3 separate regions of the Homo sapiens genome follow, and all the other regions are linked to region 3. Evidence: promoter capture Hi-C in 16 types of primary human blood cells and fetal thymus (Javierre and others, 2016). All regions are on one chromosome and are shown on one strand. Each heading gives the region's core, a stretch centred on a gene start or on the middle of the fragment in contact. The rest is flanking DNA. Distances are from core to core; before and after follow the strand shown. Region 1 overlaps LOC105372666 (a long non-coding RNA gene). Region 2 overlaps LOC105372666 (a long non-coding RNA gene). Region 3 holds the start of TSHZ2 (teashirt zinc finger homeobox 2).

Region 1 (4,308 bases), core at 819-3,318, 670 kb before region 3:
GAAGCTTTAAAATGCATTTTTAAAAAGACAGAAGGAGATATGAACTCAGTGGAAGAAATCCAGCTCATTCTAGAGCAGATGATAGCTATATATAATAAAAAATGGAGCCAAAGTCTCACCTTAATTTGCGTGTAGTTTAAGGCAGGCAGGTTCTTCTCTCTCTTTCTGAGAATTAGAACTGTATAAAACCAGAGGATGGATGAATGTGCAAGGCATCAAACTCCAGGATAAAACCTGATTTTCTATTTTGCTAAACCAAACACTCAAGTTTTACTAGTCTTTGTGTCCGCTTTAGGTGGGAGCACTGTTGTTAGTTTCTTCCCAAAGCTTACCTTTCCCTTTGGTCACATTTTTCTAGTTGTTTTTATTTTTTGACCCTAAAGAGTTTCCCTTTGTTCAGAGACTTGTCTGTGGGCTTGATACGAAGTTTCCACTTTGTTTGGTGTATTTCCATTTATAAGCCGTGTTTTTCTCACCTTCTCTGCTTCACACTCAGTTTATTTCCATTAAAGATCAAGAAAGTGACTGAAGAGTCTGTTCACATTTTGAGGTGGCCTCAATTTTACTCTACTGTTGGCTGGGATCCACCTCTCTCACTCCCCAGCTATTGACTCTTTATTTTCTCTTTTCTGTTTCAACGTTTGGCCATGGAGAATCGTAAAACCTTTACTTTTAAATTGTAAGTGTTACCTTTGTTCTTTTAATTTTGTCATCTGCCCTTGTTCTTTTGTTCTTTGTTTTCAGTATTCTGACTTATTGCATCTCTATGATTATCTTTATGTCAGAGGCATTTAAACCAGAGCGTCTTCATTTTGAATCGGGGCTGGGTAAAATAATACTGAGCCCTACTGGGCTGCATTCCCTGAAGGTTAGACATTCTAAGTCACAGGATAAGATAGGAGGTTGGCACAAGATACAGGTCATAAAGACCTTGCTGATAAAACAGTTTACAGCAAAGAAGCTGGCCAAAACCCACCAAAACCAAGATGGCGATGAGAATGACCTCTGGTCCTCGTCACTGCTACACTCCCACCAGCGCCACGATAGTTTACAAATGCCATGCCAACATCAGGAAGTTACCCTGTATGGTCTAAAAAGGGGAGGCATGAATAATCCACCCCTTGTTTAGCATATCATCAAGAAATAACCATAAAACTGGGCAACCAGCAGCCCTCAGGGCTGCTTTGCCAATGGCATAGCCATATCTTTATTCCTTGACTTTCTTAATAAACTTGCTTTCACTTTACTGTATGGATTCACCTTGAATTCTTTCTTGCATGAGATCCAAGAACCCTCTCTTGGGGTCTGGATAGGGACCCCTTTCCAGTAACATTTATGCCTTGGACAATTTTGAGGTACATATGAAATATCTGGATAGAAAGTGCAAGTTTTCTGCTAATATAACCCTTCTTTCTTAGTAATTGGACCCACAAAGGTTATCCAGGCACATGAGAATAACATGACAAACCCCAGCATTTTTTGTGTGTCTGGGTGTGACTATGTGCCTAATTTCTGGCCAGAGTGGTTTAAGTGGAAGTGTTCTTTGCAACTGTTTGGGGGCCTCTTTGTGTAGAGAGGCCACTTGCTACTCCCTGGCTGGAATGTGGTTGGGTGGTTGGCTGTAGAACGCCTCACTGGGACCTGATGTGGAGGCCACATGTTGGCCTTGGTAGACTTGATAACTAGAGACACAGTGAGTAACACGGGCTTCTCAGAACATGCTGGGAGATAAACACCAACAGCACCCAAGACCAGAAAATGCCACCAGATGCTACTAGAGAGCAAAGTATAGTGACAGGCCAGACTCTGCTTTCTAACATGATTATTTTCCAAAATGTCTTGGTCCTTGGACGCTTACCAAAAAAGAAGGAAGGAGTTTGTGACTGTGTGTATGTGTGTGTGTGCAGAATCCTAAATTGGTTGTGTGTTTAACTCAGAATGATGGCACTTACCTGGAAGTGACTAAATTTTCTGCCATTAGGTAGATGGAGGGCTTGACATAAAAACAGTTTAAGTGGAGTTACAGAAGAATTTTAAAAGATTTTATTTCTTGCACACTCAAGTTTGTCTTCTGTGACAATCATAGCCACGATGGGAGTCTGGGCTTAAGAAGGCAGCTGGGAATTGGGGCTGAGGTTTAAGCACGGCAGGAACACTGTCAGATTTGTGCTTCCTTCCGAAGTCTGTTTTTCAGGGAGGTTGTGGCCACGTGATGGTCACGGTTGCTTTCATCCTCTCCTGGAGACTCTCAGCTGTCCTACATATGTCACTGCATTTTTGCAGAGTCAGATGGTCTTTTCTGAATTATTTTCTATTGTCATCATTTGTGATCTCTGCTATAGCCCTGTCTTTATATATTTGCTTCAAAATAGGCCCCCAGTCCATTTTTGGAGAGAGTACTTAGATTTGTTCAGTCAAATTTCAGAACTGCAAGTGGCTCAGTCAGTCCAATGACAAAGAACGCCCCCCCGCCACCCACTGCCAAAATGGAACATGAGTTTTGCTTCAGAAATGAATACATAAAATATGTTACCTTTTCATCCATCTTCTCTCAATTTTATTTGTTGCTAAAGTGATATTATACAGATATTGAAAGACTTTTTAAAATAAGAAAAAAAAACCCATAACAATGATCTCATTTAAAATTTTTGGTTGAAAGTGACAAAAACTGAATTGGAACAAGCTCAGATGGAGAAAAAACACACGAGCTTGAGTCACAGAAAAATCCAGGAACAGAATTACTTTTAGATATCACTTCATCTGAGACTCAAACAATGCTCAAGTAGAATAATCATTTCTTCATTTCTTAGATCTGTTTCCCAATGTGTGGGCATCATTCTTCAGCAGGACCAATGCCTGGGGGTGCAAAATGGCCATGAGAAACTTTTAGCCTCCTATGCTTTGATTTCAGTAAACTCAGCAGCCTGAGGTTCTCTCTCTCTTAATATTAAAATCAAAGCAAAACAAGGAAGTGAGTTTCATATTGGTCTGCTTGTGCTCATGCTCCTGTCTGAACAGATTACCATGGCCAAGACAGTGGAATGACCAGGGTGGTGGGGGCAGGGGGCGGTCAGGTCTCGGGTATGTGCCCTACTTTGGATCTAAGGGTGGGTTAATTTCTTGGACTCAGTGAGTTAAAGATGATGGACAAGTAGTTCTCTACTCCCTCCTACCCAATCAGGGTGGCATTCCCAGAAGAATAAATCAATAGACAAAAATAGCAGAGAGCCACCCAACTGATAATCCCAATCCCCAAAGAGATGAGAGCTTCCATTCTTCTGTTCCCATTCGTCCATGTTCATAAAGATCACACCCGTATATGCTTATAATTATAATATAGAATAGATCAGAGAACAGCAAACTACAGCCCAGGAGCCAAATTTGGCCCATCACTTACTGCTGTAAATAAAGTTTTATTGGAACGTGGCTGTGTCGATTCACTCACATGCCGTCTATAGAAAACATCATGCTACAACAGCAGTTCATTAGTTCCAATAGATACTGTTTGGTTCGTGACATCGAAAAGTATTTACTGTTTTGCCCTTCACAGAGAAAATTTACCATCCCTGGGTATATATTAGAATTAGTATTGTGGTTTTTAAAAATTAACAGTTTATTTGTACAACCTCACATGTTTTCAGAGGCTTAATAATTATGATCTGTTTTGTCTACAGAATACTTCTGTTGGGTTGAATGACTCTCTGCCCCCAGGTAAGGAGAAATACTAGAGGTTTCTTACAGGAACCCCCTCCTTTCATGCATGTAAGCAAAATGTAGAGGCTCCTTTTAAGCACTTGCTCTGTGGTCCCCTAAGCTTAACTCTGCTGAAGCCCTTATCAAACTGTAATTGTATTTTCCTTACATAAAATATCCCTAGGGCAAGGACAATGATTCATTAAGAACACATCCATAATATCTAACGCAATGTCAGGCATTCTGTTGTGCACATATCTACTGCCTGTAAATTCACAACTTCTGCTGCTGGTGGTGCAAACTGAATCATCCACTACCCTAGTTAAAACTTTCCATGGAAGAAGGATAAGACTGAAAATCCTTAACGTGGTATACCAGGTCCCGTGTGATGTGGCCTTGACTTTCTCCTGTAGCCTTCTGCTTTGGCTTTCTTGCTCCAGCCATTCTGGTCTATTTTCCTTTCCTCCAATGCCCCATGCTCCTTCCTGCCTCAGGGCCTTTGCACAGGCTAGCCTCTCTTTCTGGCCCTCTCTCATGCATACTTTAAGGGAATAGGGTGAGGGACCAATACCAAGGCAGCCCATGTGTAATTCTCCTTGTTACATTTATATCACA
Region 2 (4,037 bases), core at 746-3,245, 730 kb before region 3:
ACCGCGCCCAGCTTTCTCATTTCTTAAAACCAGGAATAACTTACTAAAGTTATGACCTGGGAGACAGTTACGGAAATTTTCATGAGGACTCACCTGATGCCTGTGAGGAGGTGGGACAACTTCCGTGGTGCCACGTGTGGATTTCATGGAAAACCTCAAGCCCTAGTTTCAAGGATATTGCTAGGTTCAAGCAGATTCAATTTCTTAGAAGTGGCATTGGAGACCATTAATCTGATAAGGTAAACCTTCCTTGGTTAAAGACAACATGAGAATTCAAATCTGTGAACATTTGTTGAGTACCTAACCTGTGTAAGCTGCTATGTTACTCATGGCTTGAAATTAAAAATGAGTTAAATAGAGTCTGTGCCCACAAAGAGGGCAGCAGCACCAGCAGAGATGAGATGAATACACAATTAAATCTAATCCCAGGCCATGCAAGCCAGAGACAGTGGAGCTGGCCAGAGGTCTTGTGAGTTGCTAAGCTGGGTAGGAAAAATGAGGATGGATGGGAGAGAGACAAAGTAAATGAGAGAGGAGGGGGAAGAGATATTGATTTGAAAATGAATAGGAAAGAGAAGAGAATGAGAGAGGAGAATGAGAGAGAGAACAAATAAATGGGGAGGAAGGAAAGAGAGAGAGCAGATGTGTCTTGAAAGCTGGGCAGATCCTCCACTAGTGAAGATGAAGGGAGAGAGGGGGCAGTGGTATAGTAGAAGATTAAAGAAATAAAAACAATGTAAAAATCTTATTAATTTAACCTCACCAAGACAACCACTACTCTTCTTGTGGTGTATTTCTTTTCCAGTGCATATTTTATAATATTACAAATATTATAATATTTGGATTTTTCCAATGCATATTTTATAATATTAAAAAAAGTTATAAAAATAAAATTTTTATAATACACAGGGTCCACACATCCCAGCTTTGGAAATACCTCCTGGGGGTCCCATCCTGCTGACAAGAATGGGTACAGAAGCCCTCCCCAACACCACCCAGAGCTCTCTGGAAAGGGCCTGATTGCCCATTCAAATGGAGCTCTGATTGCTAATGTTATAAAAGTAGATCCTCCTTCTTCAAGGGCAGAGATAGTTTGGTCTTTGAGACACATAGATGCCCAATCACCATTTCTGGGAGACACCATCCAGTGCGGCAAAGAGAAAGTCAAGCAAATTGAATGCCTGTATCAAAACATGTTTATATCTGTCTACACTTGTCAAGTTATCAATCAACACCATTAGGTGATTTTTCATCACAGGCCTCCATCGCTGCAGTGCAGAAAAAAATGGAAAGGAATGGCTGGAAGAATTCTGGATTAAGGAAGAAGTTCCTGTTCATTCATTAAGCACTTTTTTTTAAAGTTACAAAAAAACTAATTTTGTTATTAATGTTATGTTTCAATTGGTTGTGGCAGCATCAGGTAGACACCCCAAGTGAAAGGGAAGCAGAGAGTCCTTGGCGTGATTTCAGGTTTCAGACTCCCTCATGGTCTTTAGAAACATCCTTCTGGGGCTTCCTTACCATGCTGTTAGGTGTACATGTTTTCCGGTTTACTATTAAGGACATTACAAAGGATATCGATGAACACCAGATGAAGAGATGGATAGGGCAAGGAATGTGGGAAGGGGCACTCAGCTTCCATGCCCTTTCCAGGTGCCCAAACCTCCTGGAACCTTCAGGGCTTCGCTTACAGGAAGCTCCAAACTTTTTTTTTTTTTTTTTTTTTTTTTCCTTTTTAGTATTGTAGGTACCAGGAGGACAGGGACCATGTCTGTTTGAGAATGTTTGTCTTCCATCCTGGGGAAAGTCATCCTCCACATAAGAATGAGTCAAATGTCTCCTTCGAAATGTAGCAAGAAGCAGAAAACAGGTTGTTTTTTTTCTCATGGGATACAGTTTGAAGCTTCAGATTCTACAATATATTTTAAGTTTAATTTTTAATGGAGTGTAGTTTGGACCAACATTTTGACAGTCAGAAGAGAGACCATTTTAGAGAGAGGAATCAGCATTTATAAAAGGGAGATAATTGATGTATTAGGGGTAGATGAGGAGGAACTCCAGATTTCCTGACTTGGATAGAACAGATGGAAGCTTCTGAACATCTAAAGGTGTCATAGACATGGATCTGGTCCTTAAGAATTGTACATTTGCTATTTCTTCTGGTTGTTCAAACCTCTGTTTTGTGTGTGTGTGTGTGCATTTTTCCTAGGCTTGGAAAATGTCCCAGATGTCTTTGTCATCCATTGTAGCAGGCAGAGGCTCACCTTCCCAGCCTCTCTTGCAGCTAGGGCGCAGCTACAGCCAGACACCCCACCCCAGACCCTGAGCTTCTTGCTGGTGAGCTGAAGCAGGCACCATGTGGGACCCATGCTGGGGAGTGCTGTGGGAGCTCCACCCAGGTCCTGGATCCAGCAGCTCCAGGGGCTTTCGTGGTGGTGTTCAGAGCCACACGGTGATGCAGGTGGTGCAAGCCCCCGGATCTGAGTCTAGAGGGGCTCCTTGGTGTTTCATGAGGTAGTTCTTCAGGAGCTTTTGGATTTGTTTCCTGGCTGAGCTGGTTCTCTGTTTCTCATGGGGATTGTCTGATCACAAAATATCCTTTATTAAATTCCATTTCCACTCAAAGTAGCCAGAGGTGGTTTCTGTTGCTTACAACTCTGATTCTTGACTTTAGGATGGGTGCATGAGCAGAGTGGTGAGAGAAGAGGCTGGGAGAGGCACTTTTGATGTAAGTTGACACTGAACAAATGCCTCTATGGGCATTGGCTATGGTAACAAAATTTAATATCCTCAGGCAATTCATAGAAAAATAAGTATATGAAAAATTATGCAGCCTCAGTAAAAATGAAATTGCAAACAAAATCAGGTATTAATTTTATTTCAGAGAGGTGGAAAACATGAAAAAGAAAATTCTCAGTGCTGGTAAGGATGTGGGAAAGCAGACACTCGAGGTTCCACCAATGCAAACTTTCTGCAATAAGTGCCACAGATACTTCTTGTCCATGTGCTTCGATCCAGCAATTTCACTTGTAGGAATTAACCTAGGGAAATAATTGGATAAGTACATTAAGATGTATGTGCCAAGATTCTCATTGCACTGTTGTTTATTTCAGTGAAAAACTGAAAGCACTCAACTGCCTATCAATAGGGGATTGACCAAATAAATTCTTATACCATGCAGGATGTATGTATTAATGCACAATGTAGTTAGGTATTGATATGTTTTGGCTGTCCCCACCCAAATCCCATCTTGAATTGTAGCTCCCATAATTCCCATGAGTTGTGGAAGGGACCTGGTGGGAGATAATTGAATCATGGAGGTGGTTCCCCCATACTGTTCCTGTGGTAGTGGATAAGTCTCACGAGATCTGATGGTTTTATAAGAAGTTTCCCCTTTCACATGGCTCTCATTCTCTCTTGTCTGTCACCATGGAAGATGTGCCTTTTGCCTTCTGCCATGATTGTAAGGGCTTCCCAGCCATGTGTAACAGTGAGTCTATTAAACCTCTTTTTCTTTATAAATTGCCCAGTCTTGGGTATGTCTTTATCAGTAGCATGAAGGCAGACTAATACACGTATTTAGCCCGGCCAATAGGTAAGCTAATCTTTATCACTGTGGAAATGTGTCCACAAAATATTGTCATATGAAAGTCTGTTAATAATGGATGTGTGTACATTGGGGCTTGAGTGGGGCCTAATAAAGTAATATTCTTCTTTCTTGTTTAAGTTTTGAATCAATTGAGAGAGAACCGCAAAAGTCAGAGAGATGGTGATAAAAACATCATCTTCATTACGGATAAAAGTTTTATCGGAGGATGTAGCTTACGAGAGTATCCACATGGGTTCATTATAGCCCACCCAGGCAAAAGTTACGCTTGTGGAAGATTGTTGCCTCAAAGATTGCTTGGTTCTGGGGCAGAGAAGAAAGGGAGCAAATTGCAAATAGCCTTTTAGTGTGTTAGCTTACCTAGTTGAGATATGTGGACAAATGGCTATCACCCATTGATATGGTTTGACTCTATGTCCCCACCCAAATC
Region 3 (4,640 bases), core at 956-3,455:
ATGCTGAACATCAATAATCACAGGGTAAATGCAAATTAAAACTGCAGTGAGATAGCACCTTACCCTAGCCAGAATGGCCATTATTAAAAAGTCAAAAAACAACAGATATTGGTGTGGATGTGGGGAAAAGGGAACTTTTATACCCACTGCTGGTGTGAATGTAAATTAGTACAATCTCTATGGAGAACAGTATGGAGATTTCTCAAGGAATTAAAAGTAGATCTACCATTTGATCCAGCAACCCCACTACTGGGTATCTACCCAAAGGAAAAAAAGTCATTATGTCAAAAAGACACCTGCAGGCGTATATTCATTGCAGCACAATTGCAAAGATATGAAATCAACATAAGTGCCCATCAACTGATTATTGTATAAAGAAAATGTGGTATATATATCTATATATGTGTATTTGTGTATATATATGTGTGTTTGTGTGTATATACACACATATATATACACCGTGGAATACTACTCAGCCATAGTAAAGAACAAAATAATGTCTTTCACAGCAACTTGGATAGAGCTGGAGGCCGTTATTCTAGGTGAAGTAACTCAGGATCAAAAACCAAATACCACACGTTCTTGGTTATAAGTGGGAGCTAATGCATGGGTATGCAAAGGCATATGGAAAGATATCATGGACATTGGCAACTCAGAAGCGAGGAGTATGGGAAGGGGGTGAGGACTGAAAAACTACCTATTGGGTACGATGTACACTACTCGGGTGACGGGTGCACTGAAATCCCAGACTTCACCACTATGCAATTCATCCATGTAACCGAAAACCACTTTTACCCCTAAAGCTATTGAAATAAAAAAAATAATAAAGCAAAAAAAAACACCTCTAGTCCCAGCCTGCATCAAATGCCCTCAGTTGCTTTGCCCTCTCACTGGAAGGAGCACTCCTTGAGGGCATGGTCTAGGTTCACCTTGTTCACAGACTTGCCCCCAACACCTCAAAAGGTGCCTGGCCGATAGCAGAACTCAATAATCACATGTTTGTTTCAATCTCTCTGTGCTCAAATGCCATATCCTACATTGAATCTAGAGCCACCCACCCCCTTTTAGACACTATTACAGCACTCAGCTTAACGTCTTCATGGAGCGAATCACTCAAAGTATCCTGTTTATTTGCTTGCTTACTTTTCATTCATTCAACAAATATTTTACTGGGCACTTATTATATGTCTTGTGCTTTGCCAGCACTTGGGGATATAAGAGAACAAAGAGGCAAAAATCCTTCCTTCCATTGGAGCTTACATTCAAGAGGGGAACTTGTACAATCAACAGAATAGAAAACTGTCTATAACCTGTGTGACACTCACTGATCAGCTCACTGGGGAATAACAAAATGGAGAAATGGGGCAGGGAGTGTGTGTGTGTGTGTGTGTGTGTATTTTAGGTGAGGTAGACCTTTGGGAAAAGGGGACATTTAAGCAAAGATTGGATAGCTGGGGGGCACTTGTCTGCACTCCCCCATTAGAATATAAATACCAACATGGCCACCACCTTCCCTTTCTCTGTGGCCTCTGTGTCTCCAGAATAGGCACATAGTAGATGCTCAATAAACATTCTTCAAAGGAAACAAAAAGAGGAGTATATGATTAGACCTTAAAGTAGACAGAAGGGAGATTTTTGTTTTTGTGACCACCCATTGATTAGCGAGAAAGTGGGAGGGACAGGGGCACTAAATTGAAGGGGTCGTGGGGAGCACATTTTGGTGGGGGCAGGTTAAGACTTACAGGATGGAGATCCTCACTGGATAAGGTCCCCTCCCCCTTCCCAGCCCCGAGCAAACCTAAGTTCTCCCTCTCCTAAGATTGTGCATGGTCCCTGCTGGTCAGCCAACCTGGCCCCCCTGAATCTCCCTCCACAGCCTCCCAGCTTCAGAGTTCAGCCATCATCACACTGCCTCCTTTTCTCCCGCACCCCTTCCCTCCTCACCTCCTTTCCTCCCGCCCCCGCCCCTTCCGCCTCCCGGAGGGGTGTCCCCGCGCCCGGTGGGCACGCCCTCGCCCCGGCGGAGAGGGCGCACAGAGGGGCCTGGGCCGGCGCGCCGGGGCCCCCGCCCCCAGCCCCTCTCCCCTGCGGGACGCTGTCCCTTTAATAGGCTCCCGCTGCCTGGCGCTCTGCGGCTGGGGAGTAAATTTCTCCCTGTCATCAGGTCGCGGGGAGAGGAGGAGGAGGAGGAGTTTGTTAATGTTCAGTTTGTTCAGCGGGATCGATGTTTGCTGGCATCGCCTCGCCCTGTCTTGTGTGTGTGTGCGAGGGTGTGTGTGTGTGTTTGTGTGTGTGTGCATATGTGGGGGGTGTGAGTGTGTGTGTGCGAGGAAGCGGGGGTGCGTGCGCGTGTGAGTGCGTGTGTGAGTGTCTGTGTGTGTGTCTGTGTGTGTGTGTGAGTGAGTGAATTCCAGATTTTCTGTCTTTCCAAAACCCGCTCCTGTCCTCTCGCATATCACTCACAGACGGGGATCTGACAGCAGCCACAAACCTACAGTGAGTGATCGCTCTCCCCCCGGCACGAATCCGCCATAGAGATCGGCGAGGAGGAGGAGGAGGAGGAGGAAGAAAAGAAGGAGGAGGTGGAGGAGGAGGTGGAGGAGGAGGAGGAGGAGGGAAAGAGGAGAAGGAAGAAGAAGAAAAAGAAGAAACCCACTACCTTCCCAGGATTGCCTTTTTTTTTTCCTTATCTTTACGCGCGAGTGTGCCTGTGGCGCGTGTGCGCCCCTCGTCCCTTCCATCCGAACCCGGGCTTGGATGTTTAATAAAGAAATCAAGTGTCTCAACAGTCACCAAAAAAAAAAAAAACCGCAAAAACAAAACCAAAAAAATTCCAAAAGCAAAAACAAAAAAGAGAGAGGAAAAAAAATTCAAAATAAACAAACAAACAAACAAGGCAGAACCAACCTCTACTTCAAAGCAGCCGGCACAAGCCACCCGTGTCTGCCACCCAGAGAGGGGGGTCTCTGGCCCGTGGTGGAGGAGTTGCAGGGGGGATCGTCAGGGGGACAGAGGCCGAGTGACGTCCTAGGAGCCACCGGGCAAGAGGCGGAGGAGACCCAGAGAGGCCAGAGAGACAGCGGGCCCCAGCGCGCGGCTCGGGGCTGGGGCGCCAGAAGTGGGACTGGAGCGAAGTAGAGGATGCCGAGGAGAAAACAGCAGGCACCCAAGCGGGCGGCAGGTAAGAGAAACGGCTCCGCTTCGGGGCTGCCCTGTGCGCCGAGCTCCTCGCCCGCCCTCCTTGCCCCTGGGTGCCCGGGGGCACCACCCACTTAAGCTTTCGGGGGAGTTTGCGCCGGGTGCCCTTCTAATAACCCCGTCCTCTCTCGCCTTCTCTGGTCTCCCAAATCCTCCCCTTCCAAGCTCCGGTTGGGTTGGGGTGAGCTATCCCACCAAGCCTTTCCTCCTTAAACTTTCTTTCCTCCACCCTCTACCCCACCCCTAACTTTCTTCCAGTCTGTTTCTTGCCTCTCGGGCCAAAGTCGGATTGAGGATTTGGGGTGCGGAGTAGGGAGACAGCCCCTCCACCCCTGCATCCCTCTGCGTGGTCAGTGCCAGTGGCTTTTGGCCTCCAGGGATAGCGTCTCCTCTCACTGGGGCTTGGGGCGCTGAAGTGTGAGGCATACCTAACACTCGGGCTGCAGGCAGGCTTTGGGGCCAGCAATAGGAGTTTAGCGTTGATCACCAAGGTGGACAAAATGCCCCCAGGAAATGGATGACTCTTTGCATATATTTTCTAAAAGGATCCATATTTGGAAATGTAATTAACAATTTCCCTATTCTTTAAAAAAACCAAAAAGGGTTGTAGGGGGGAAATTCCCCATAGAAATTTAAACAGCTCTGGATTTTCTTTGCCTAGAGAGTTGCAAACTTTGTGAAATGATTCGTACTGTAAAAACTATCCCATCTGAATCCTTACTGCCCCCTAAAAAAGATAAGAACAGGTTAATGGATCAGTACAATAGACCTTCTAAAGTTTTTTTTTCTTTTGGGTTGCTTAATTGCTTTTTTAATAGTATGCTGGGGTTTTGTTTCTCGGAAATGTAATATGAAAGTTCATTTTTCTTCTGCCAGACCCACCCACTGAAAAATCAGCTTTCCACTTGATTGCTAGTTTTGATTTGACATTTGATTGATCACCTGTCATCTCGCTGCCTTTGATCTATTCATTCTTGATATATATCAATAAATCACTCACCATGGTAACTCAGAGTGCCAGTGACGCAAACCTTGCCCTCTATATTCAGAGCCAGACATGCACAATTATTATCTTGTTTGGCTTTTAATGTGGGCGTTTTTATTTCTTTGTGTCCTTTAGTTGAATCAGGGCTTTCGCAAAAAGCTTAAGTTTAGTTGTTTTTTCCTCTCTCTCTGTCTTTACCCTCTTGATTTAGGCAACATTAGGTAAGACTGGTCTTCTGCAGACCCACCTCCACATTTCATTCTGTTCCAACTCTAGCAAAACATAGGGAGAAGTTTGGTGGAACACTTTCATAAACTTTGCAAAGTCACCCTTAGAACAAATCCAAAGTTAGTTAGGAATCTGAGGAGAGTGGGCATCCCTTGTCTGAATGTGTTGAACCACCAAGCTCATCCTCCTTCCTCGCCTGAGTGTTTCAAAATATCCACAATTATCATTC

What was found. The method cuts DNA at HindIII sites, captures the fragments that hold promoters and counts their contacts. A CHiCAGO score of 5 or more calls a contact.
Region 1: a fragment that was not itself captured here is called in contact with the fragment with the promoter of TSHZ2 in region 3 in 4 of 17 cell types (total CD4 T cells, activated CD4 T cells, non-activated CD4 T cells and 1 more); the score reaches 6.7 in total CD4 T cells.
Region 2: a contact is called between a fragment that was not itself captured here and the fragment with the promoter of TSHZ2 in region 3, in 1 of 17 cell types (total CD4 T cells). The highest score is 7.1, in total CD4 T cells.

The regions. Positions count from the first base shown.
Region 1 is chr20:52,301,281-52,305,588 of GRCh38, forward strand. LOC105372666 (a long non-coding RNA gene) reads left to right here. Exons shown (of 17, transcript XR_007067652.1): 3 at 3,675-3,711. Among named protein-coding and RNA genes, the nearest start is that of ZFP64, 110 kb to the left of the region's middle. The HindIII fragment of the contact is 3,487 bases long and covers 326-3,812 here.
Region 2 is chr20:52,245,362-52,249,398 of GRCh38, forward strand. All of the region lies in intron 2 of LOC105372666 (a long non-coding RNA gene), which reads left to right. Among named protein-coding and RNA genes, the nearest start is that of ZFP64, 56 kb to the left of the region's middle. The HindIII fragment of the contact is 188 bases long and covers 1,902-2,089 here.
Region 3 is chr20:52,970,153-52,974,792 of GRCh38, forward strand. TSHZ2 (teashirt zinc finger homeobox 2) reads left to right here and starts at 2,206. Exons shown (of 3, transcript NM_173485.6): 1 at 2,206-3,181. The coding sequence starts at 3,142. The HindIII fragment of the contact is 5,636 bases long and covers 1-3,275 here.